Regions from separate parts of the Homo sapiens genome. Here all the other regions are linked to region 1. The links are contacts of gene promoters, found by promoter capture Hi-C in blood cells and fetal thymus (Javierre and others, 2016). All regions are on one chromosome and are shown on one strand. The core of a region is centred on a gene start or on the middle of the fragment in contact, and the rest is flanking DNA. Distances in the headings are between cores, read along the strand shown.

Region 1 (2,923 bases), core at 123-2,622:
CAGATGCCCTGAGGCCCAGGGCCCCAAGGTCCTGCCGCCCAGGCTCTGCTGGTGCTGACAGGGAACCCGGCCTGCAGGGCCTTCCCGCTGTTCCGAGGCACAACACAGGTCCAAGAACAGGGCCCCTTGGGAGGTGCCAAGCACAGAGGGGCATAGGTATAAGGGAAAGCTGCAGCCAGGATGAGGGTCCGCCTGGAGGGATTTCAACAGGCAGAAGGGGGCACCTGGAACAGCAAGCTGAGCTTGGGGCTCCCCAGTGCAGTTGTGCATGGAGGGCGAGGAGCACGGGTGGTAGGTTCTCAGACACTGCCAGGCACCAAGGAGGAAAGGGGGAGGGGGAGGGAGAGGGGAAGAGGAGGGGCGGGGAGAAAGGATAGGAGGAGAAGGAGGAGGAGAGGGAGAAGTGGGGGGAGGGGGAGAAACAGGAGGAGGGGAGTGGGGAGAAAGGAGGAGAAGGAAGAGGAGAGGGAGAAGTGGGGGGGAGGGGGAGAAACGATAGGAGGAGGGGGAGTGGGGAGAAAGAGGAGGAGGAGGAGGAGTTGGGGGGAGAAATGATAGGAGGAGAGGGAGAGGGGAGAACGGATAGGAGGAGAAGGAGAGGGAGGAGTAGGGGGGAGAAACAATAGGAGGAGAAGGAGGAGAGGGAAGGTGGGGAGAAAGGATAGGAGGAGGGGGAGAAAGGAGGAGGGGGAGGAGGGCTAGGAGGAGAAAGAGGAGGGCTAGGAGGAGAATGAGGACGAGGAGGAGGGCGGAAAGGATGGGAGGAAGGCTAGGACCCCTCCTGTCCTTTTGCAGATGGGGCCCTGAGCATGGGATGTGCCTGAGGTCACCCCTCAGGCATTAGCAGAGCCAGCAGTGTGATCTGGGTCTCCCAATCTCCCCAGCCCCCGGGTGAAACCCTGGCCCACCACTCAGCACATGCTACGTAACCTCAAGGAGCCTCAGTTTCCCCCCACATAAACAGAGCTTACGAGGTCTGCCTGGCAAGGCTTCCAGCAGAGGTGGCACTTGTGGCTGTTCCTGTGGAATCCCACCTCCTCGAGACCCTCCAAGGCAGCAACTATGACAGCTGATGCCAGCCCTGAAATCTCTAAGCAAATAAGGTTCCCAGGAGGACGGCAGCATTTGCATGCGGGTGTGTGAAAGCCCAGCCAAGTGGGCTGCCTCTGTCTGCAGCTCTGAGCCCCACACCCCCTATTTAAACAAAGATAGATCCTGCTCCAGGAGCCGGGAAGCCTTGCCCTGGCCAGCTGTGCTGGGCACCTCCCCTGCCTGCTTCCTGGCCCACTTGCAGGCAAGGTGAGGGCATGCGAATGGCTGCCACTGCCTGGGCGGGGCTCCAAGGGCCACCCCTCCCCACCCTCTGTCCCGCAGTGAGGACGGGACTCTACTGCCGAGACCAGGCTCACGCTGAGAGGTGGGCCATGACCTCCGAGACCTCTTCCGGAAGCCACTGTGCCAGGTGGGGACCCAGCCTAGACGTGTGGGCCACAGGGAGAAGGTGGAGCGTTGGACTCTAGGGAGGCAGGGCGGCACCCCAGCCCACCGGGACTTTCACACACCCTGGCCTGTGGGGAGGCAGTGCCAGGGCCCGCCCTGGTCCCCAAAGCCCCTTGGGGCACGAGGAGGGACACACACTCAGTGCGGCTCTGGACGGGGTACACCCAGCTGGGGTTGGCTTCCTGCCTGCCCAGGGGCTCCCCCATGGAGCAGGTCCCTTCGTTGGGGTGGGGGGCATCCCCATTCTTTCTGCAGAGAGCTCTGAGGAGGGGCCCGCCTGCCCACCACAGAAGGATGGGGGCATGAGGGGCTGCTGGGTGGCCGAAACTCCTCGGGGACTTTCCTCCAGGAACACCCCACAGTCCGTAGTGAGGCTCCCAGCCTGGGGCCGGGGCCGAGTCCTAACACTGAGACCTGGCTCGGGCTTCAGGGTTAGGCAGGTGCAGGCGGCCCAGGCTCAGTCTCTGTCCCTCTGGGCCTCCGCTAATGTGAAGTGAAGGGTAGAACTAGAAGGCTGCCCCTCCGACCTCCTGCGGCGCCTCCATGGTCACACCCTCCGGTCATCGTCGCAGCTCCAAATGCCAGCCCCAGCTCGAACCCTCTCCTTCCAGGGCCACAGATGTCGTGCTCCTGGCCCCGTTTTGCCAGCCCAAGACTAGGAGCCACGGCACCTGTCCTCCCACAGAGAGAGACCCCCGGGGCGAAGGTGCGGGAGGAAGCTGGGACCCCCAAGAGTTGTGAGGCCGGGCTCCATCAGGCCCGCCTTGCTGGGGAGCTCAGGGCCTATGGGTCCTGGCACTGGGTCCTCAGGCCATGAGCGAAGGCAGGCGACTTGAGGGGTTTCCTGTCCCTGGCTCACATGGCTCCACCCTACGGATAAGAGAGGGAGAGGTGTCTGTACTCCAGGCCCACCTTTCTGGGCCTTCTCAGGCTCCACTGAGTACCCAGGCAGAGTGGACGGCATTCAGGGCTGGGGGACACGGGCACTCACTGGATGGACAGACAGACGCCTGCTGTGCCAGGCCTGCCAGACGCTCCCGCCCCGGCACTGGTTTCTTCCTGGAGCTCGTGGCTGGCTAGGGGGTTCTCCATGTGCTCATGGCCAGGAGAGTCTGCCGAGCCAGCCCAGCCCCATTCTACTCCGAGTCGAGTCTGTAAAGTGAGCTCACTGCAGGCAGTGTGGTGGCCCCAGGAACGGGTCTCACCCATCCCCTCTCTGACCCCCATCCCCACCCGGCCTTGCTGGGTGCAGGAGCAGGATGCTGCGGCGACGGGCCCAGGAAGAGGACAGCACCGTCCTGATCGATGTGAGCCCCCCTGAGGCAGAGAAGAGGGGCTCTTACGGGAGCACAGCCCACGCCTCGGAGGTAACAGCACCCAGGAGACTGTGGTGCGACTTGAGAGGTCCTCCCCTGCCTGGGTC
Region 2 (2,923 bases), core at 424-2,923, 450 kb after region 1:
TGGCTTATGCCTGTAATCCCAGCACTTTGGGAGGCCGAGGCGGGTGGATCACTTGAGGTCAGGACTTTGAGGCCAGAGTTCGAGACCAGCCTGGCCAATATGGTGAAACCCTGTCTCTACTAAAAATACAAAAAAATTAGACAGGCGTGGTGGCGCTTGCCTGTAATCCCAGCTACTTGGGAGGCTGAAGCAGGAGAATAGCTTGAACCCAGGAGCGGGGGTTGCAGTGAGCCGAGATCGCACCAATGCACTCCAGCCTGGGCGACAGAGGGAGACTCCTTCTCAAAAAAAAGAGAAAAAAAGAAAAAAAAACCAGGCCCTAATGTGCACATAAGGGACAGGGTGGTCAGTTCTAACTGCTATTTGCTCCACCTGAGGCCAGTGTGGACCAGGACAAATCCTAACAGGATGGACTGGGCCGTTCTAAGCAACAGGACCTTCTAACCTCCTTTCTGAACACTGTGAGGCCAACTGCAAAGGTACCCCCCCACCCCCAATTCCGATGTCCTTTCCTCCCATACCATGTTAGACCGTTGCAACACGTTGCCTCGTTTTCAAAAAACAATAACAAAACTTCTAGGACACAAGCTCTGAAGGAAATTGTCAAGAAAGTGCGCTGGCTGACTTGTGAAATAATCTAATGTTACTAATTCTTATAATACATTGTAATGATTTAAGACTTACAGCAAACTACTGTGAACTTTCAATAACCCTATAAATAACACGTGCCATTCCCGTCTTTAAAACTTAAATAACACCATGCAACATAAAACAGAAACATCTCCAAAGTGGTTTTTAAAGTCTGTTCGCGGTTCTGGTGCCTCCCGCGTGTAATCCGCAGAAATCTCACTGAAATAGGCTGAACTCACAAGGCCTTAGAGGGGTTTGGGCCCTGCCGCGGGGGCCCACGTGGGAAGCGGCCGAGAGCCCCGGGCCAGGCTCTAAGGGAGCGCAGGAGGATGCCGTCCCCAGCCGGCCGTCCCGTAGACTCTCCGCGCGTACCCGCGTCCTGGGCTCGGGGGCCCAGTCCCGGAAAGCCCTCTCGGGGGCTGTCAGCTACGGAGGCGCAGGTCGCGTCTGCCCGGTCGCTCCTGCTCGCAGACATCCAGGCCGACGGCCCGCGCGGTCCGGAGAGTCAGCAGTCGCGGCCGAGCAGGACAATCGGCCCAGGACCTGCGCTTCCAGAGCGTGCGGCTTCTGAAGCCTAGGCGCCGGCCGGATCGATCGCGCGCAGGGCGGACCCAGGCGGCCGGGGTGGGGGCGGCTGCGCTGCCCGAGGCGCCCGGCCCAGAGACGGCGGCCGGGCCAAGGTCACACAGCGCCCACGCCCGCTCCCCCGCGCCCCGGCCGCCGAGGCCCGGCGCCCCCGCCCCCCGCGTTCGGGCCGGCCGCGGGGCCTCAGTTTCCCCGCAGGGCCGGGTCGGGGCGGGGGCGTGGCGGCCCGGGGCCCGCGTACCTGTGGAAGGAGACGGCGCGCTTCTCGCCCTTTCCCTGCCGGTTGGAGCAGTTCACGGCCGCACAGCAGATCACCATCGCGGGCCTTGGCCCAGCCGCGCAGCCAGGCCCCGGCCCTAGCCGCCCGCCCGCCCGCGGACCGCCCCGAGGGAGGGAGCGCGGCGGCGACACGGCTCGGGACGTGGGCCGGCCCGCGGCGTCCGCGCCGTACGGCAAGATGGAGGCGCAGGCGCCCGCAGCGGGCCCGCCCCCGCCCCAGCCCCCGCCCGCGTCCTCGCCAGCCGCGGGTTCGGGCGTCTTCGGACCAGCGGGGCGCCGCAGGCCCCTCGCAGCGTCCGTCGGCAGGCGGGCAGACGGGCGGGGGAGTCGCCCCGGCGGGGCAAGTCCGTACCGCGACATGGGCGCGCCGAGCACGTCCGTACCGCAAGATGGCTGCTCGGACGGGGACAGAGCTCGCCTCTGCCGCCTCGACAACTGCTCCTGGGTCCTCTAAGAGGAGGAAGCGCCACCCATGGCACACAGTGTCCCGTCGGACAGCAGAACCAGCCGTCGTCCCACGACACGACCCCATGCCGCCCGCAGGGCGCCCCGGGGCTCGCGTCGGCCCGGCCGTACGCCAAAATGGCGGCTCCCGCGTATTTCCGCTCGCGCGCCGTATCGTCTTCGCCGCCTGCGCCGGCACACCTATTGGCCCCCGCGGCGTCCCGTCGCCGCGTCGCGTTGCTGGCCCGTCGGAGCGACGCCGCTCGGGTCAGTCGGCGGCCGGACTGGGAAGATGGACGCAGGTGAGGAGTTGCCGGGGGTCGGTCTTTCCGCAGGAGGTGCTCGCCTTATCATTGGCCTCCCCTGCTCGGGTCGGGCTGCCGCGACTCGCCTCGGGGCACGCCGGTGCGGGCCAGGCTGGGCCGGGGCGGCGGGCGCTGCGGGAGCGCGGGGCGGTGTTGGTGGGTGGTGGGCGGTGGGAGCGGGAGGGGGACGGCGGCGCACTGCGCCGCGGAACCCGCCGTCGGTTGCGCTGGAGCTTCTGCTTTTCCGGTCCCGTCCGGAGCGCTCCGGAGGTTGTGGCTGCACAGGCCCTTGCGCCAGGTCGGCCGTGGAGGGCGGCGGAGCCTGCCGGGCGGGGAGAGGCGCGGCGGCGAACGGGGCGGCCGCGGTCCGGGCCGGGGACGCGAGCGGCGGGCGAAAGCGTAGCCTTTCCGCAGCTGAGCGTGAAGGGATGGAAGCTCTTTAACTTTTATGAAGTTATTGGTAGGTTGGAGGAGAGAAACGTGACGTGTTCATCACAGTATACGTATCTTTTTTGTTTTTGTCTTCAATTTAGTAACCAGTAGATTCTCCAAGCTGCTTTTCCGTGACGAGAAAGAGAAACAGTGAATTTGTATCATCGGGTCTTAGTTTCTTGGGGTCCTAAGAGAGAGAGAAAGAGAAGGAGTGTGTGTGTGTGTGTATAGGGAGTGTTGGTTTTTTT
Region 3 (2,923 bases), core at 1-2,500, 400 kb after region 1:
ACGAAAGCTGTATTAGAGTTACAAACTAAAACTTACATGATGATGTTAAGATCACAGCTAGCCTCTTGGGAATGCTCCATCTGTAGGAAAATATAGACTCGGCTCTTTAAAAGTAATGAGAAAATGACTGCCATCTTTTTTTTTTGGAGACAGGGTCTTGCTCTGTCACCCAAGTTGGAGTGCAGTGGTGTGATCTTGGTTCACTGCAACCTCCACCACCCGGGCTCCAGGGATCCTCCCACCTCAGCCTTCTGAGTAGGTGGGACCACAGGCATGGACCACCATACTCGGCTAATATTTCTATTTTTTTTTGTAGGGATGGGGTTTTGCCACGTTGCCCAGGCTGGTCCCAAACTCCTGGCTTCAAGCCATTTCCTCGCCTTGGCCTCCCAAAGTGCTGGGATTATAGGCGTGAGCCACTGCGCCCGGCCAACTCTATAGAAGATTTACAAATATTTTAGATCTTGTCAAAACTGTAAGAAGAAAGAAAAGGAAAGAGATTCATCCCTTCTTAATTTTTTTTTTTTTTTTTTTCCAGACAGAGTCTTGCTCTTGTCTCCCAGGCTGGAGTGCAGTGGTGCGATCTTGGCTCACTGCAACCTCCAACTCCTGGGTTCAAGCGATTCTCCTGCCTTAGCCTCCCAAGTAGCCAGGATTATAGGCATGCGCCACCACACCTGGCTAATTTTTTGTATTTTAAGTAGAGACGGGGTTTCTCCATGTTGGTCAGGCTGGTCTCGAACTCCTGACCTTAGGTGATCCGCCAGCCTTGGTCTCCCATAGTACTGGGATTACAGGCGTGAGCCACCACACCCAGCCCCCTTCTTAATTTCTTAGGGAACGCTTTGGAAAACAAACATCAGCAGATAAAAAAAAAATGTACAGCCTACGCAAGTGATAATATTCAAAATCCTCAGCCATAAAAATAAAGGCCTTTTATTTGGTTTTTCTATGCCAGTACAGAAACATCTGGACAACACTCTTGAGCCTGCAGAGGCTCACGGCCACACCCACTTCTGCCGCAGGGACTGTCTGTTGAGGAGCCGAACCGTTGAGGCACAGTAGCCAGGCCCTCCCGAGGGCTCCAGAAGCTCTAGGTTTACGGGGTCACCTTCTTGTAGGTGACGTGAAGATGCTGAGTCATTGGCTGTGTCGTGGTTGCCATGGAGACCGTCTGCTCAAGTTTGCCTTCAGAATTCAGCCTGAACTTCCGGGTGATCTGAGCAGGAGAATGGAACAAAGATAGCTTAGTTTTATCTTCAAAAGATTCAATCAATGCCTGTGCGCCCACTGCATGCCACACACTCATCACGGGCTGTGAGCCAGGCAGTGGCCCTGCCAGAGGAGGGTAGACACACAGCCCAGGGCCCCTGGGCATGTCACAATCCAGGTGCCCTTCAGCTGCCTCCAGAAGACCACCAGGGGAACACAGGGATTGTTTATTTAGAAGTCACCTTTTTTGTCGACGGCCATACCACCCTGAACGCACCTGATCTCGTCTGACCTCGGAAGCTAAGGAGGGTCGGGCCTGGTTAGTACTTGGATGGGAGAAGTCACCTTTTTTTGGTCTCTACAAATCATATACCTGATCAGACAAGCGCTGAGCTTCCAGTGCTTCCCTTCTCCACTGCCTCCCACTTTCACTGTAACTAGAACTGATGTCCAGTGTGTTCTTGGAAAGCTCAGAAATACCATCTTTGGAACAGTAATTCATCAGAATAAATTATAGCAGCTGTTTCCAACAAGAATCCAAGCCTATGGCAGCTAAGTCCCGAATGAGTCAGCCCTATATGCCCAGAATGTTTGCCGGCAAATTGTGAGAGTGACCACTGTCAAAAGACAATTCTCTGATGGGCACTATCTCTCTAGTGCCCCAGATGTGTGGGGGGTCATGTGGGGTGGGGGGCACCAGAAGTGGATGAAACGGAGTTCTGCTTATGGCCATGGCTGACTACTCTGTAACTGACCAACCCTCCTGCAGATAACAACCCAGGTTTTAAGAAGTTTCTTTAAAGGTGTCAGAGAACCACCAAGTCAGCGAGGACCAGCACCCCAAAGAGAAGGAAGTGTGGAGGTGAGACCCAATTTGGAGCAACTGGCCCCGATGCTTTTGCTGCCCGGAAGTCAAGGGGTTCAAGGGGTGGAGGCTGAGAGGGATGTGGTAGCTAAGAGGCTGAGAAGCTAAGTGGGGCCTTCTCAGACTCATGGAGCTGGAGGGACAAACACTGGAATTCAGTGTCCATCTAGGAGGAGAGGCGCAGCCGGGCATGGTGGTATGCACATGTAGTCCCAGCTACTCGGGAAGTTGAGGCAGCAGAATTGCTTGAACCCAAGAGGTGGAGGTTGCAGTGAGCCGAGATCATGCCACTGCACTTCAGCCTGGGTGACAGAGCAAGACTCCTTCTCAAAAAAAAAAAAAAAAAGAAAAAAAAAAGAAAAAGAAAAAGAAAGAAAAAAAGCACCCTGAGGTTGGGCACGGTGGTTCACGCCTGTAATCCCAGCACTTTGGGAGGCCGAGGCGGGCGGATCACGAGGTAAGGAGATCGAGACCATCCTGGCTAACAGGGTGAAACCCCGTCTCTACTAAAAATACAAAAAAAATTAGCCGGGTGTGGTGGCGGGTGCCTGTAGTCCCAGCTACTCAGGAGGCTGAGGCAGGAGAATGGCGTGAACCCAGGAGGCGGAGCTTGCAGTGAGCCAAGATCGCGCCACTGCACTCCAGCCTGAGCAACAGAGCGAGACTCCATCTGAAGAGGAAAAAAAAAAAAAAAAAAAAAAGCACCCCAGCTTTGGGTGGGGTCCCTGAAGGGTCCCATCCCAGGAGTAAGAGTTAACCAGAAACAGGCTGGGAAGTCCGGTTTCAAACCAGCTCAGCCTCTACTGAACACGAGCTGTCCATCCTTGACCAACAGGCAGAAGCACA
Region 4 (2,923 bases), core at 171-2,670, 340 kb before region 1:
AGACTGGGGGCATTTTGACCCTGCCCTAGAGATCTATGGAAAGCTGAACTTGAGAGAGATGATTTAGTGTATCTGGTGGAAGAAATTTCTAAGTGGCAAACTGTTCAAGAGGAAGCAGAGCATAAAAGTTTGAAAAATTTGCAGCCTGATGATGCAATGGAAAAGAAAACCCATTTTCTGGGGAGAAATTCAAGCCAGCTTCAGAAATTTGCATAAGTAATGAAGAGCTGAGTGTTAATCACCAAGACAATGAGGAAAATGTCTCCAGAGCATGTCAGAGACCTTCACAGCAGCCCCTTCCATCAAGGGCCCAGAGGCCTAGGAGGGAAAAAGGGTTTCCTGAGTTGGGTCCAGGGCCCCCCTGCTGTGTGCAGCCTTGGAACTTAGTGCCCTTCGTCCCAGCCACTCCAGCCATGGCTAAAAGGAGCCAACATACAGCTCAGGCCATTGCTTCAGAGGGTGCAAGCCCTAAACCTTGGCAGCTTCCATGTGCTAATGGGCTTGTGGGTGCCCAGAAGTCAAGAATTGAGGTTTGGGGAGCTCCCAATCCCTAGATTTCAGAGGATGTATGGAATTTCCAGAATGTCCAGACAGAAGTTTGCTGTAGGGCAGAGCCCTCATGGAGAACCTCTACTAGGGCAGTACAGAAGGGACTGTGGGGTCAGAGCCCCCACACAGAGTCCCCACTGGGGCACTGCCTAGTGGAGCTGTGAGAATAAGGCCACCATCTTCCAAACTCCAGAATGGTAGATCCACCGACACCTTGCGCTGTACATCTGGAAAAGCTGCAGACACTCCATAGCCAGCCCATGAGAGCAGCCAGGTGGGGGGAGGGGAGGTGTTGTACCCTGCAAAGCCACAGGGGCAGAGTTGCCCAAGGCCATGGGAGACCACCTCTTGCATAAGCATGACCTGGATGTGAAACATGGAGTCAAAGGAGATCATTCTGGAACTTTAAGGTTTAATGACTGCCCTGTTGGATTTCAGACTTGCATGGGGCCTGTAGCCCCTTTGTTTTGGTCAATTTCTCCCTTTTGGAATGGGTGTATTTACCCAATTCCTGTACCCTCATTGTATCTAGGAAGTAACTAACAAGCTTTTGATTTTACAAGCTCATAGACAGAAGGGAATTGCCTTGTCTCACATGAGACTTTGGACTTGGACTTTTGTGTTAATGCTGAAATGAGCTAAGACTTTGGGGGACTATTGGGAGGGCATGATTGTGTTTGAAATGTAAGGATACGAGATTTGGGAGGGGCCGGGGTGGAATGATATGGTTTGGCTCTGTGTCCCCACCCAAATCTCACCTTGAATTGTAATAATCCCCATGTGTCAAGGGCAGAACCAGGTGGAGGTAACTGAATCATGGGGGCAATTTCTGCCATGCTTTTCTCATGATAGTGAGTGAGTTTTCATGGGATGTGATGGTTTTATAAGGGGCTTCCTCATTTGCTTGGCACTCTTTCTCCTTCCTGCCTCCATGTGAAGAAGGATGTCTTTGCTTCCCCTTCTGCCATGATTGTAAGTTTCCTGAGGCCTCCCCAGCCCTGCATAACTGTGAGTCAATTAAACCTCCTTCCTTTAAAAAATTACCCAGTCTCAGGCAGTTCTTTATGATAGCGTGAGAACAGGCTAATACAGACTCTCAGCTTATCTTTCCTAAATACAGAAAAATGAGGGCCTCAGCAAAAGCCTGGCTGCATCAATGCAGGTTTTCTATACAGATGCAAATTTCCCCACAAAAGAAAGCTTTGCAGGGCTGCTTCTGTTTTCAGGCCCTCTGAACAGCCATCTCAAAATATGTCAAAGAAGTTTATTTGTGGGGGATATATTTTGGTTTCCTTTCTGGTGGAAGCTCAGATCCTGGGGGAAGGTGAGCCTCCAGGCCTGCCTCCTTCTCTCCCTCTCCGCTGCCCAGAAACTCCTGGGACAGGGAGTCTGGACCCTGGTGAGAGAATCTGAGAGAGTGGGCTGGCCAGGCAGCCAGGGCAGGGCAGCCACACAGCCCTGCAGAGAGCACTGGCCGGACCTGTGGCACAGCTGGCCTCCTGCCAGGAGCTGCCCGTGTGCCAGGCACCATGGCCAATCCCTTCCCTGTCAACCCTAAATAAAGAGATTCAGAAAACAGGATGAAATGGACAGTTAACTTGAGCACAGAGCATAAGGACAGCCACCTGGGAGCACAGACTCCAAAGAGTGGGAGTTGGTGCTCCGAAGTTCTGGGGGCTATTTGTATAGATAAGGTTTGGGAAGCTTAACAGGTGATATGGTTTGGCTGTGTCCCCACCCAAATCTCATCTTGAATTGTAGTTCCCATAATTCCCAGATGTCATGGGAAGAACCCAGTGGGAGGTAACTGAATCATGGGGACAGTTTCCCCTATCCTGTTCTCATGATAGTGAGTGAGTTATCATGAGATCCTATGGTTTTATAAGAGGCTCTTCCCCCTTCACTCTGCACTTCTCTCTCCTGCCACCATGTGAAGAAGGACTACAGTTGTACATTCGAGGTAAGGAACACCGTTGGGCATTAGAGGGAGAGGAGCACCACTGTACTTTAGAGGGTGAGGTGCACCATTAGGCATTAGAGAGTGAGGAGCATGGTTGTGCATTAGAGTGTGACAAGCACCATTGTACATTAGAGGGTGAGGAGCACCGTTGTACATTAGAAGGTGAGGAGCACCATTGTGCGTTAGAGGGTGAGGAGCACCGCTGTACATTAGAGGGTGGGGAGCACCACTGTGCGTTAGAGGGTGAAGAGCACCGCTGTGCGTTAGAGGGTGGGGAGCACCGCTGTACGTTAGAGGGTGGGGAGCACCGCTGTGCGTTAGAGGGTGAAGAGCACCGCTGTGCGTTAGAGGGTGGGGAGCACCGCTGTGCGTTAGAGGGTGGGGAGCAGGGCTGTGCGTTAGAGGGTGGGGAGC
Region 5 (2,923 bases), core at 276-2,775, 310 kb before region 1:
AGTAACGTTTGTTAAACAGACTTTCCTTTCCCCATTGAACTGACTTGACAACTTTGTTAAAAATCAGTTGACTACACATTCATAGGTCTATTTACAGCCTCTCTTCTGTTTCATTGCATCCTCGTGTCAATCCCATGCTGTTGCAAATATTGTAGCTTTACAATAACTCTTGAAATTAAGAACAAGTCCTCCAATGTTTTTCTCCCTTTTAAAGGTTTTTTGTATTCTACATCCTTTGAATTTCTGTGTACGTTTTAGATTCATGTTGTCTATTTCTTCAGAATAGCTTGCTGAAATTTTGGTAGGAACTGCACCAAATCTATATATCAAGTTAAGGAAAATGGAAATAAAGTATAAATTCCATTTCACAAACAGAAATGTAAGTATTTTAAAATTACTTTCAGCAATGTTTCTAGTTTTCAACATACAGCAAAGTGGGAGGGGGTTATTTAAGGAAAGCCAGGAACCCAGGAACAGGAAAGCCACTGATCCAGCCCAGGAGGCAGGACCAGGCAGCCTCCCCGGCCCCCAGCGGCCCTTCTCCCTCCAAGTAGAACCTCCTGGAAACAGCCCACTTGGGCGTAGATCTTTTGTTAGATTTATTCCTAGGTGTTTGATCTTGTTGATGCTGTTATAAATGGCATTTGAAAATTTTCATTTCCAGTTGTTTATTTTTTAATATATAATCTCATTTTTTTCTATATTAATTTTGTATCTTCTGACCTTCCTAAATTCACAAGGCCTAGTAGCTTCTTTGTAGATTCCTTTAAATTTTCTAAGTAGATAATCAAACTCTCTGTGACTAATGAGAGTTGTACATCTTCTGCCTTTTATGTACTTTTTCTTGCTTCATTGCAACGGTGTAGGCCACAAATACAGTGCTGAATCTCAGTGATGAGTGTGCACCTTCTCGCCTTGGAGACGTGTTTAATGTCTCAGCGTCAGGCTGACGGCAGCAGTGGGGTTTCTGCAGCTGCCCTGCTCTCACAGGCAGGAAGTCCCCACCTGTCCTAGTTTGCAGAGGGTATTTATCACTAACAGCTGTTGTATTTTGTCAAATACCTTTTCTGCCTATGGTGAGATGATCATAAAGTTATGTTTCTATATTCTACGGATGTGCTGTTTTGTTGACTGACCTCTTATTTTCTCGTAATATATTTGTCAGGTTTTGATAGCAAGGTTACATTGGTCTTGTAAAGTGGTTTGGACAGTATTTTCTTTTCCTTTATTTATCAATTAAATTTGTCTAGAATAGGGACTATTTTTTTTTTCCTTATATTTTGGTAGAATTGTCCAGTGAAGCTTTATGGGACAGGAGCTTTCTTTATGGGAAGGATTTTTTTAATGACTTCTAATGTTTTCATAGACATAGAGTTCTTTAGATTTTTGTCTCTCTCTTTGTGCCCGTTTTGGTAATTTGTGTTACCCAGAGCATGCTTGATTCCAAGTTGTTGAATGTGTTGGCATAAAATCATCCATAATATCCCTTTATTATCCTTTAATGCTTACGGGCTCTCTATTGATTTCCCTGTTTCATTCCTGGTATTGGTAATTTATATTTTCTCCTTTTTTTTCTCCCATTGATCAGTCTTGCTAGGGGGTTACTGATTTTATTAGTCTCTCCAAAAAAGCGACATTTACCATCATTTTCTCAATTGTTTGCTTTGTATTGATTTCCACTCTTATTGTTCCTTTTATTTTACTTCCTTTGGTTTTAATTTGCTCCTCTTTTTCTAGCTTCCTATGGTAGAAGCTTAATTGATTTTAAACATTTATTTGTTTTCTAGTATGAGCATTTAAAGCTAAACATTTCCCTCTGAGCGCCTTCTTCACTGCATCTCCCAAATTTTAATCAATGGTGTTTTTGGAATCACTCAGATCAAAATATTTTATAATTTCCTTGTGATTTATTCTTTGAACCACAGACTATTTAGACTTATACTGTGTAATGTTCAGATATTTGGTGGATATTCTAAATGTATTTTTGTTTTTTATTTCAAATTTATGTCTGTTGTGGTCAGAGCTCATACTGTATATGGACTTCAGTATTTTGAACATGTACTGAGAGTCTGTTTTATAAACTAGCAGCAGTCTCGGTGACTATCCCATGGACACGAGATGAACGTGTCTTCGTCATTGTCAGGTGTGAGCTTCTACAGATCCTCAGGTCCGCCTGGATGACAGCATTGTTCAAGTCTTCTTTGTATCACTGGGGTTTTGTTGTTGTTGTTTGTTTTGTTTTGGTTTTTTGCCTGCTTTTTCTATGAAGTACTGAGAGTGGGGTGTTCAGTTCTCCCAGCATGAATGTGGTCTTGTCTCCTTCTCCCTTTATGCATTCATCTTCATGATTTTGAAGGTCTGTTGTTAGGATTGTTACACCTTCTTGATGAACTGACTATTTTTATCATTGTGAAATATCGCCCCTTACCTCTGGTAATACTCTTTGTCTTAATGTTTGTGTGTTTTCTTTCCTTGGGCCACTTGTCTCTCCATACAAAAGAGATGAACGATTTCTATTTCTTTTCTTTTCTTTTCTTTTCTTTTCTTTTTTTGAGACGGAGTTTCGCTCTTGTTGCCCAGGCTGGAGTGCAATGGTGGGATCTCGGCTTACCGCAACCTCCACCTCCCAGGTTCAAGCAATTCTCCTGCCTCAGCCTCCCGAGTAGCTGGGATTACAGGCACCTGCCACCATGCCCGGCTAATTTTTTGTATTTTTAGTAGAGACGGGGTTTTACCATGTTGGCCAGGCTGGTCTCGAACTCCTGACCTCAGGTGATCCACCCACCCCGGCCTCCCAAAGTGCTGGGATTACAGATGTGAGCCACCGCGCCTGGCCCAGTTTCTATTTCTTGATACTCTGCCCATGCGGAGGATTTTCCCTCACCACTCTCTTCTAGGAACCCTGAGTTGGGAAAGTCCATTT

The links. The method cuts DNA at HindIII sites, captures the fragments that hold promoters and counts their contacts. A CHiCAGO score of 5 or more calls a contact.
Region 2: the fragment with the promoter of THAP4 here is called in contact with the fragment with the promoter of ANO7 in region 1 in 11 of 17 cell types (erythroblasts, total CD4 T cells, total B cells and 8 more); the score reaches 13.3 in erythroblasts.
Region 3: a contact is called between a fragment that was not itself captured here and the fragment with the promoter of ANO7 in region 1, in 2 of 17 cell types (naive CD8 T cells and total B cells). The highest score is 5.5, in naive CD8 T cells.
Region 4: a fragment that was not itself captured here is called in contact with the fragment with the promoter of ANO7 in region 1 in 1 of 17 cell types (endothelial precursors); the score reaches 6.1 in endothelial precursors.
Region 5: a fragment that was not itself captured here is called in contact with the fragment with the promoter of ANO7 in region 1 in 5 of 17 cell types (M2 macrophages, endothelial precursors, total CD8 T cells and 2 more); the score reaches 7.1 in M2 macrophages.

What each region holds. Positions count from the first base shown.
Region 1 is chr2:241,187,305-241,190,227 of GRCh38, forward strand. ANO7 (anoctamin 7) reads left to right here and starts at 1,373. Exons shown (of 25, transcript NM_001370694.2): 1 at 1,373-1,462; 2 at 2,753-2,867. The coding sequence starts at 2,760. It overlaps LOC105373971 (a long non-coding RNA gene), which reads right to left and starts at 1,118. Exons shown (of 3, transcript XR_924064.3): 1 at 972-1,118. RefSeq lists enhancers at 643-1,327, 1,328-2,011. The HindIII fragment of the contact is 15,628 bases long and covers 1-2,923 here.
Region 2 is chr2:241,635,485-241,638,407 of GRCh38, forward strand. It overlaps THAP4 (THAP domain containing 4), which reads right to left and starts at 1,674. Exons shown (of 6, transcript NM_015963.6): 1 at 1,457-1,674. The coding sequence starts at 1,533. ATG4B (autophagy related 4B cysteine peptidase) reads left to right here and starts at 2,209. Exons shown (of 13, transcript NM_013325.5): 1 at 2,209-2,240. The coding sequence starts at 2,231. RefSeq lists silencers at 1,197-1,336, 1,407-1,476, 1,507-1,856, 2,227-2,276, 2,297-2,486 and 1 more and an enhancer at 1,830-2,757. The HindIII fragment of the contact is 17,924 bases long and covers 1-2,923 here.
Region 3 is chr2:241,583,507-241,586,429 of GRCh38, forward strand. It overlaps THAP4 (THAP domain containing 4), which reads right to left. Exons shown (of 6, transcript NM_015963.6): 6 at 899-1,219. The coding sequence ends at 1,100. It also overlaps the pseudogene RNA5SP122. Among named protein-coding and RNA genes, the nearest start is that of BOK-AS1, 26 kb to the left of the region's middle. RefSeq lists an enhancer at 793-1,321. The HindIII fragment of the contact is 4,093 bases long and covers 1-2,923 here.
Region 4 is chr2:240,845,369-240,848,291 of GRCh38, forward strand. No RefSeq gene overlaps it. Among named protein-coding and RNA genes, the nearest start is that of AGXT, 22 kb to the right of the region's middle. The HindIII fragment of the contact is 653 bases long and covers 1,095-1,747 here.
Region 5 is chr2:240,881,165-240,884,087 of GRCh38, forward strand. No RefSeq gene overlaps it. Among named protein-coding and RNA genes, the nearest start is that of MAB21L4, 14 kb to the right of the region's middle. The HindIII fragment of the contact is 451 bases long and covers 1,301-1,751 here.